Linked DNA regions of Homo sapiens: region 2 is linked to region 1. The links are contacts of gene promoters, found by promoter capture Hi-C in human tissues and cell types (Jung and others, 2019). All regions are on one chromosome and are shown on one strand. The core of a region is centred on a gene start or on the middle of the fragment in contact, and the rest is flanking DNA. Distances in the headings are between cores, read along the strand shown. Region 1 holds the start of MEGF10 (multiple EGF like domains 10). Region 2 overlaps MEGF10 (multiple EGF like domains 10).

Region 1 (5,348 bases), core at 382-2,881:
CAATAATAATAAAGCTAATTTGTGCCTACTATGTGTCAGGCTTGTTAGTCCTTCACATGCATTAACTTACTTAATCCCTTTAACAATTGTCTGATGTAAGTGCTATTATTATCATTTTGATTTTACATATGTGGATAAACAGATTAAGTAACTTACCCCAAAATCACAGAACTGAAAAGTGGCAGAGTTGTGAGCTGAACCCAGGCTGGCGGGTGCCCAGAGTTTACCAACTGAACTCTTTGAACTCTCAGTGGTAAAATTAAAAGTTCCCTGCAAGCTGACCTCTTGGAGCACTCGTGTCAGGAAGATGACATTTCTGGATAATATAAATTGGCCCCAGTATTTCTGTCCATAAGGAATGAAGCATTTTTATTTGGGAACCCTATACACAAAGTGAGACCCAGGATATAAAGGAGTAAGGCAAGAAGAACAAGAAGAAATGTCATTCTCTTCTGCCTTGGCACAGCATGGTTATCACAGCCTAAGAACAATAATAATGGCTAATTTTGGCTAATAAGATCTCCAACTTTGACTTTCTCCTAAATAATGTGGGTCCTTGCGTGAGGATATTTTCTAAAGAAGCAGCAAAGATATTGCCATCATTCATTTGCTCAGTGGTGTCACTAAGAAAAATACTTCCAGAAAGAAAATTAAGGCCAAAACACTTCCTTAAACCAGGCGTAAAAGTCCTCTAACAAGGAATTTAAAAGAAAAAGATCAACACCGGATTTATCTTTCTTAAGTAACTATCACTTGAAAAACCGTCCCTCCCAGCACTCCTTAAGGAGCCAAGCATACTGACAAGGCCCCTTTGGTCTAAGACTGCGACCTCACACCCCTACTGATCGCTGAGAACTCAGGAAAGGGGAGCATCCCGCCAGCCTAGAGCGTTATCTGCACAATCTGAATACCAAGGACGGGAGAAAGAGAAGTTTAGAAAACAGTGAAGATCCCAGAAAGGAAGTTCAACTGACCTAGAAGAAAGGGCCCAGCTGAAACTGCCTTTCAAGCTCAGTCCGATTCCCCACAAATCTCCCTACATCCAGCTATATCGCCCGGCAAAATGAAACAAACACAAGGTAAGGCAATACAAGGGCAGGAATTATGCAAAATAAAATGCGTAATGAGGATGTCTCTCCATCAAAAATACTCCAGGATTTTCCTACACAATCCCATGTAACAAAACCAAATGCAAACAACAATAAACCCTTAAGAAGCGCATGAACAACGCAGACTGAGCCCATCTCGCCCCACCTCACGCCGCACCCCGGTACCCTGGCTAAGGAAAATGTGACCCCCGCCCATGAGAAGCCTTCCGGCGTCCGGCCAAGGTCCAGGAGCCGCCGGAGTTGAGTTTGCCCAACTCTTACCCAGGTCCAGAGATCTTGAGAATCGCAGCGCAACCTTTTCTCCCCGGTCTTCACCCAAAGCCAGCCAAGACACAAAATCTGTTCCAATCAACGCGGTTAGCGTCCAAGCAGCGTCCCAGAAGAAAGCAATCTTTGGGAGTCTTCTTTCAGGCGTAAAGGTGGAGAAGCGGGAAAGAGGAACGTCTCAACGCGTTCCCAGTCGCCCAGTTTTGCGCACCGGGAAAGTACTTGCTGCAAACTTGAACAAGGTTTTCTCTGTCTGGCCCGAGATGCTGGAGGGGGTGGGGGCGGGTAACCCGAGCCGGGGCCGGGATTCGAGCAGTTGCCGCTGCTGCAGCTGCTGCTGCCGGGGCAGTGGCCGCTGGGGGGTTGTCGCTTGGCGCCGCGCGCAGTCCCTAGCGCAACATGCAGGATCTTCCCGGCCTGACTGCTGCACCTCGATCGTGAGTCGCCCCTGCCTGAGCGGCTTCCACCGCCTGGTGGGTGACCCCGCCAAAGGCCTGGTCGCGAAGTTAGCAAATGTTGGGGTCACCGCAGGGGGTGACCGAAGGGGTGTCAGAGTGGGTGCCCGCCTGATTCCCAACCCACGTTGGGTGCAAGTCCCTCGGCAGAGTCCCTGGGAGGTGTTCTAGACCCTCTGTAAGGATTTGTGGGACGGTGGCCGGCGCCCGAGCGGCCAACTGGAGTGGACGGCGGGTCCTCAGTGGTGTCAGGGGAGAAAGCGCAAAGGTGGGACCCAGAAAGGATGGTGATTAAGCCGTGCCAGAGAATGTGATGTGGCAGCAAAGTACATGGAAAGGTGGGGCGGGGAGGTGAAGGCAGAGGGTGGAGGGTGGGATAGTCTGCTTTACCATGGAGGGGCGGAGAGAGAACTCCCCGGACGCGCAGGAAAATCCCCCCAGGTCCTCGGAGGCCTCGCGCGGCAATTTATTGGGGAATGGCTCCCTCTGCCGACTCGCCGAGGAGGCCCCGGGAGGCCCAGTGATGGAATGTTAAAACCATGAACGGGCTTTTCCATTTGTGGGTTAGACAGGACATGAATTCTGGAATCTGCTTCTCTGACTGTCCATCTTCCTCTTCCAGACTAAAGAGTTTTCCAGCTTTTACAGGACCCCAAAAGATACAAATTTGACTGCTGCAAAGTTCTTTCTTGTGTCGTTGAATTCTATCCCCCTCTCCCCACAAAAAAACAAAAACAGGTTTAAGCCCCATAACCACTCCAGGTAACCATCTCCTACCAGGCTTCTCTTCCTCCCATTAATAAGAACTCTTTCTTTTTAGAGAGACTTCAAGAGCGTTCGAGTCCCTACTCAATAACGCTCCTGGAAAATAGTACAGACTCCATATTATGTTTGAGTGAATAAATGAATGGAATGAATGAACATAGATATGTTTGAAGCCCCTCACCATCCTCTTTACTCTCCCTGGAAATACACAGGGGAAGACTGTTTTGGTGTTTGTTTATTTGTTTGTTTAGCAGTCATCATTGCCCCTTCTCTGGTAACAGTACCTCCATTTTTCTTTGAGATACCATCCCTGCCACAAGGACAGCAGTCTGGGTGGAAGGTCAGTCAGGATGGTCCAGCTTTTCCCTGTCCAGAAGAGAGCAACTGACCTCAGCTAAGCCCCTCAGGCCCTCTCTGCCAGGAGTTGGAACTTTGATCTGGGCAGCACAGGCACAAATAATTCTAGAGGTGATTAATCCATATGGCTGTTTTCTAAGGAAATTGGCTGTTAGTTCATGCCACTTATTACCCAAAGATATTTTGCTTTATGAAACTTGGTTGCCCCACTTTCCTTTTAATTTTTTAATCAACTTTATTGGGGGATAAGTTACATTCCATATATTACACTCATATTAATTATACAGCTTCATGAGTTTTGAATAATGTACACACCCATGTAACCACTGCTTCAATCAAGATAATGAACAATTCCATCACCTCAGAGGGTTGTCTTGCACCCCTTTAAAGTCAACTTCTATCCCACCTCATATTTGGCCCGCTTAGCTGTTTTCTGTAACTACAGATTAGATTTGTCTTTTCTAACATTTCATATGAATGGAATCACTTACATATTCCTTTGTGTCTGACTTCCTTCACTCCACACAATGTTTTTGAAACTCATTAATGTTGTGCCTGTATCTGAAGTTTGTTCCTTTTTATTGCTGAGTAGTATTCCATTGTATGGATATACCACAATTTGTTTGCCAGTTTACCAAATGATGGACATTGGGGATGTTTTCAATATGGGGTTATTATGAATAAAGCTGCTAGGAACAATCTTTAACAAGTCCTTTTGTGGACATACATTATTATTTTTCTTATCTTACAGGAGTAAAATTATTATTACAGTAACTGTGTGTTTAACTATATAGAAAGATGAACTGCTTTCCAAAGTGGAAAACATTTTACATTCTCACCAGCAAGATATGATAATTGCTTCACATCCTCATCAACACTGGGTAGTTTCTGTCTTCTTATTTTTGCCATTCTAGTAAGTATATAGTGGTATCACATCGTGGTTTTAATTTGCGTTTCCTTACTGACTAATGATGGTGACCATAAAAGATGTTTACCAGCTTTTCATGTGCTCTCATGCCACCTGTTCTTTGATAAAGTGTCTGAATTTATTGCCCAATTTTTAATCAAGTCTTTGGATTCTTATTATTGAGTTGTAGGAGTTCTTTATATACCAGGCATTTGTTAGATATGTATATAACCAATATACACTCCCAGTCTGTTTCTTGTCTTTCAATTTCTTAATAGTGTCTTTCAAACAGCAGTTTTTAATTTTGATAAAGTCCAGTTTATCAAGCGTGTTTTTGTGTGTGTGTGTTGTACTTTTAGGTTTTACATAAGTAATCTTTGCTTACCCCAAGGTCATGAAGATTTTCTATGGCTTCTTATAGAAGTTTATAGTTTTAGCTGTTATATTTAGGTCTACAATCTATTTGATGTTAACCTTTGTGTATGGTATGAAGTAAGGGCTGAGGTTCATTATTGTCTACATGGATATCCAGTTGTTTTGGCACCATTTGTTGAGAAGATTATCTTTTTTCCCATTGAGTAACTGGATACCTTTATTGAAAATCAATTGGCCATAGATGAGTGAGTCTATTTCAGGATTCACTCATTATTCCTTTCATTTGATCTATATTTCTATTCCTATGCCAAAACCATACTGTTCAGATTGCTATAACTTTATAATAGGACTCCAACTTAGATGTAATAAGTCTTCCAACTGTGCTTTTATTTTTTTTCAAAATTTGTTCAACTCTTCAGCTTTTGTTTTTGTTTTTATTTGGTTTTCATCTTCCATGTAAATTTCAGAATTTGCTTGTCAATGTTTTAAAAATTCACTTTTCTAATTGAGAGTGCCTTGAATCCATTGATCAATTTAAGGAGAACTGACATAAAAATATCGATTCCTCTAACCTATGAACATTTATCTCTCCATTAATTTAGGTATTCTTTAATGTTTCTCAGCAATATTTTGTAGCTTTGAACATGGCAGTATTACACACAATTTAAAAAATGAATCCCTAAGTATTTTATTTTTAATATTTCATAAATGGAATTATTTTTGAGTTCTTGTTTCCAATTGTTCATTGCTAGTATGGAGAAATACAGTGGAATTTTGTGCAGTACCCTCACATTTTGCAACATGGCTAAATTTACTTATTCGTTCTAGTAGTTTTTCTTTTTCAGTTTGCTTAGGATTTTCTACATGCTCTGCTTCTTTTATTTATTTGTCTTGCCTTATTTCACTGGATAGGATGCCCAGTACAACATTGAATACAAATGCTAAAATTTAGTATCCCATCCTTGTTGCTCATCATAAACCAAAGCAATCTGTCTTGTACCATTAAGTAGGATGTTAGTTGTAAGTTTCATTAAACTCCCTTTATTAATTGAGAAATTCCTTCTATTTATAGTTCACTAGAAATTGTTTATTTTACCATGAGTGACTATTTAA
Region 2 (5,200 bases), core at 682-3,181, 140 kb before region 1:
TGAACCTCCCCCTGGTGTTAACAGGGACCAAATGAACAATTTTAAGAAGGAAGGGGCACAACTAAATTTGTGCTTTATAGGAGGGCAGAAGATGGCCAGAAGATGTTGAGCCTGGGAAGAAAGAAAACCTGTCAGGTGCTCTTTTACCTGCAGAACCCCCATTTGGGGTTCCCCAAATAAAAAAAATGATCAAAGTGACAAGGCATGAAACTAAGTCAATGTCAGCAGAGATGCGGGGAAGAGGAATTCTGGAGAGATATAGAAGAAAATGCAGATGAAGACTCCCCTCCAATTCTCCACCAAAGGTAATTAATTCTGGCAGCTCCCTGAGGGAGAGACAATGCCTGTTTTTGCTCACCATAGCACCTAGCACATGGGAGGTGTTAAATAAATTTATTTGTTGAATGAATCGATACACATAATTCCTATTTCCTGTATGATATTCAGGACCACTTTCCAATGGGATGGAGCAACCACAGCATTCTTTGCTTTCCTGAATAAGTCTTCACTCAAACCAGGAAGCCCAACATATTTATAGGTTGTATATCAAAAATGGTGACCCTTCCCTGCTAAGGAGGTGGAGATGTCTGCCTTGCTTATTCTTGAGCAGATACACATTTAGGGGCTCAGGTCTGTGTTTTTACATGTAAGCCCAGATTATTAGGCCATAAAGGAATTATATGACATCTTAAGGAAATTCCTTCAGAAGTTTTAGCAAAAAACAGATAGAAACTTTAATAGTTCAGGAAATAACTTCTAAAATATTGGGAAGAAGGGGCAACGTGGGAAGGGGGTAGGTTTAAATCTGCAGCCATCTCTGGTTCAATGGGAGCATTTCTTTTCTGATAAATGTTCTAATGCTGATAAGGAGATCTGTAAGGGACTGTTTTTGCCACGACTGAGAACAAAGAGCTCTTTGATAGCCTCCACAAGTTGCTAGGCAATGGCTGAATGATCGTGATAAACTTCAGCTAAGCAGCTCTAAAGAAATGTTCGTGCAATTAATGCCTGATGCATTATGCCAGCGGCCTCAATGTGAAATCAGCATTCACTGGGCATTTGTGATTGCATGAATGCAGTAAATAAATCATCTGGGGTGTCATTCTTTCCCCTCTCATAGATATAACCCCAAATCCTTGTCTTACTTAATTGCTTATATTCCTTATGCCAGTATTCCAATATTTGGAGCGTTAGTGAATGAAGGAAATTATTTTGATTCTATGTCTAGTTCCTGGGCAACAAGCTATTAAACATATATTAGAGCAAAGAGAGATATTTGTTAATAATAATTGGGCTTGGTAATTATAAGATGGAGGAACTATAGTATTTAGTCACAACACTTTTTCTGCTTTTCTAATCCTTTGACCAACAAAGCAGTGGCATAGTGTAGTGTAGTGTAGTGTAGCGTAGTGTAGTGTAGTACAGCATAGTGTGGTGTAGTATAGAGAAGTTATTCACTGGTATATCCATCTCTGCTGATAGAGCGACTGTCCTGATGCAATGTGAGCTTCTGCAGGATGGGAGTTGGCTTCACTTCCTCTCTGTGTTCCCAGCACCCAAGCATTATGGTTGCATAGAACCTGGAGACACTCAACAAATGGTTGTTAAACCAAATCTTTCTATTTGGATACTATGGATTTTAAAGACCCAGTAAAAAAGAATCTGCTTTATATAGTTCAACAAAGTTGAAAAAAGTCTTAATAAGTCATATAAATCAGAGGTGTTTGCCTTTGCACTTGCAAGACAAAAAAAAAAAAAAAAAAAAAAATACCAGACACCATGGCCTGCCTCAGTCTGGACCCAGATAAAAGCAAGTAGAAAGGATTGCTAGGCAGATCTTGGAGCTTTGGTTTTTTCTGTGGCCTTTTCTTGTTGGGGGAAATGAGCACCTCCCTTCACCCTCACAGCAGGGGCCCAGCCTTCTGCTTTTATATGATCCCCTCTCCCAAGACCAAACAGACAGACATATACATATGAACCTGCAGACACACTCTCCAGCCCTCAATACCCAAAAGGGTCAGATAGTGAGTCATTTGTACTTGTGGCTGATTGGGTGCAGGCATGTTAATTAAACTCATTTGACTAAAGTTATTACCTCCAACTTGGATTTGCACTTATATGTCACTGGACAAAGGAAGGTAGGTCTCCCCTTATTTTAACAGTTCAGGCATCCCTTAGCTGCATGAGACATCACCTCACGACAGATTAGTCCCTGAAGTAGCAGCTCACTCACTCAGCTGGTCAAACTTGCTGTTTGGTAAAACATGGAAAGGAGAGCTTTCCTTGTGGAGGGAGGCTGCGGCCACTCTAGGCCTAGTTCTGCTTGCTGGGAAGAGCGGAGAAGTGGGCTCTTCACATCAACTTGCCCACAGGTGATCCTCCTTCCGATTACACCCTTCCTGGCTGGGCTCAGATGAGCCCCCAACCTCTCCTCTTATTCTCCTACCCCTCCCCTTACAATTATACCATGCCTTGATAGTCTCTCCTCTCTTTCTCAAGACCCCTAGAGTTTCATTGGGTGTCCTATTCTCCTTTTTATCTGTTTAGTGTTTAACTTTTTTATTCTGGTATAAACACATCCTTGAACCACCTCTTCTCATTTGCCATTGATTATGTGGTTTCTGTCAAAGAAATGCACCCCAGACCCCAAGTTCTTCAATAACTAGAGTAATATGACACAGCAGATGCCACTATGCAGACCGTAACTGCCACTGCCTGCCTGGGTCACCAGGGCAGACAAAGCCACCAAGTAAGGTTTTGCAAGTTGTGCACTATGCAAGAGCCCCTGCCCAAGGGGCTAAGTTGGGGCAGAAATCCGGCTTGCACTTCATGTGCCAAGGAGTACATCCTGAGGGATTTCCAAATCTTTTCCAAATTTGTATCAAAGTTGCTTTCTGGATGGGCAGAGGCTCCATAATCTTCCTCCTCCTCAGCCACTTTCCAAATTCTCATTTAGTAGGTGTGAGGTGGGGACTGGGAATATGCAAGTTCGAAGAGTTCCCAGGTGACAGTGATCTTAGCCAGGGCTGGGAATGAGGCCGGACACTGCACATGTTCCCAGTCAGCTGGAATGAAATCTTGATTAGCTGTAATGCTCAGCAAATGGGTGTTCTGGCTGACTGAAGTCAGAGCAGAAAAGAAGACATAAACTTCAGCCTGTTTCTGTAATTTTGGGAAAATGCTTTTATAAAGTATATCACTCCACTACTCTGGAAACACACATACATAAGTATACACAAACACTCATAATTATATTTCATTGACATCTGAAATTTCAGTATAATCATTTTGAAAAGCGAGCCTCATTTTATAGCAGAGAGAGAGAGAGAGTGTGTGTGTGTACCAGAGGTCCAGAGGTGTAGGAGAAGCAGCATAGGACACAGCCTAAATCCTGAATGGTATTTCATTTTCCTCATTCTTCTACTGCAATCTGCCTCTTTTTGATAAAATAGTGTATTGGCTAAAAATGACAATAAATTAAGGTTTTAAATAACCACATACTACAATAAAATGGTACTTTTTTTGGAAATAGGATCTAAAATGTCAAACACAACTTTTATTTTGTTTACTTTTCATAACAGTATATTTTGAGGACTTATTTTATGACTAGGTAAAATAGGACTATCAATTATAATAGAAATAAAAAAGCCTCAGTTCCTTTGAGAGAACAGTCAAATGCTAGATAGTGGGTTGAAGTTATAAGAAATGGTGGATGTGGGTACACAGTAAGACAGCAAGCCATCTTCCTTGGCATCTCACCTTAGGGTGAGACTTCCTCAATTTAGTCATGTCAATTCCTTTGTAAAGAGGAACAAGGCCCTCCTGACTCTTATCTCTGGCTCCAAATCCAACTGATCAGCCTCTCCCCACAGTGTCCACAGTTGACGGAGCACTTAAGGCCATCTTGTTGATTTGATCAGGGGAAGAGCCCTGGCTTCTGTGTCAGATTTCACTGATTTATTCATAAAAGCCTCACTACACACAAGCCTCCTATCCTACATACTTCTGCCCTGTCCAGGGATACTTAATATTTCACCTACAGCAATCTCAGCAACAGGGATGAGAAGAAATAGAATTGCTTGCTTCTCTGGGCTTATGTTTATCTTTTGACCTCAAACCTGGTGTCTTAAATGGAAAGTAAAACCTTCTTTACGTTCAAAAAGGTCCTAACAGGGTACTAACCCTAAACAATTTTATGGGTAAAAAATTATTAGTCTGTCCAGTGCAGACAATGAAATGATGACCTTTGTAAATAATATACAGAAGCTGCTCTTTCTTTAAAAAAAAAAATAAGCCAATTCTTGGTCCAATTGTAGGTGTTTTTTGGAACTTCAGTAATTTTCTTTTCCTCTACATGTGTTTTTGTATACCAAGTGTATTCTGTAATTGTGAGGGATGACCTCACAGCAGGCTTAGATACTGACAGATGCTTACAGACCAACAGCCCACACAGAAGACCCAGAAATGAGACACTGGGGCAACTTAGCTGGTCTAGGAGCAATAATGACTGACAGACCATGAGGCAGAGATGGTAGGCAACAAGCAATAGAGCAGCATGAAGCAGTAGTCTTCCCGTTTAGAGAAGCAGGCCGGCCACAGATGGACAGAGGATTACAAGATTACATTGTGTGACAAAGCCACTGCATTCCCGTAGGAGCTTGATAGGTCTAAGGTCAGATGGGATAATTTGTCTTACCCCATGACCCAGACTGTGGAATGCAACTAACACATTTTCCGGCTGGCTTCAGGCCAAATCCTATCTCTTGCTCTTCTCATGTATACTAGAGTGTGCCTTTCACAGGATAGTTCTAAATCATCAAAGCAGGTGGACACTTGAGCAGTGACTGGTGTGTTCAGGAACACCTCACATTCTTTCTATCTTTATAAGACAGAAGTAGATTTGGTGGAGTGTTGTATAAAACAAATGATGTGGTCTCTCTGTTAGAAAATTCTGAATTTGCCAGAAGGTTAAAAATGTTATTTTGCTTCACCGTGGTCATTGAGAAATTAGTATCGATCTCTCCATTTGAGAACTTCAAGAACCCTAGTGAAGTCACAAAATCTGGTTCAATCCCTAGTTGATGCAGTTTTAACATTTGGGGATGAAGAGCCAAGCTGAAACATTGGAAGGCAGAATTTCCTATTGTGAAGTCAAGTTATCTCAGGTTTTGCAAGTCAAGATGGAACTACAGGGTTGGGG

What was found. Contacts are between HindIII fragments. The study calls those that stand out against the background at their distance.
Region 2: a contact is called between a fragment that was not itself captured here and the fragment with the promoter of MEGF10 in region 1, in 1 of the 25 tissues and cell types used here (dorsolateral prefrontal cortex).

The regions. Positions count from the first base shown.
Region 1 is chr5:127,287,079-127,292,426 of GRCh38, reverse strand. It overlaps MEGF10 (multiple EGF like domains 10), which reads right to left and starts at 1,631. Exons shown (of 25, transcript NM_001256545.2): 1 at 1,371-1,631. LOC105379199 reads left to right here and starts at 1,691. Exons shown (of 4, transcript XR_007058921.1): 1 at 1,691-1,849. The HindIII fragment of the contact is 12,500 bases long and covers 1-5,348 here.
Region 2 is chr5:127,424,710-127,429,909 of GRCh38, reverse strand. The region is part of intron 13 of MEGF10 (multiple EGF like domains 10); the gene reads right to left. Among named protein-coding and RNA genes, the nearest start is that of PRRC1, 90 kb to the left of the region's middle. The HindIII fragment of the contact is 6,098 bases long and covers 1-4,980 here.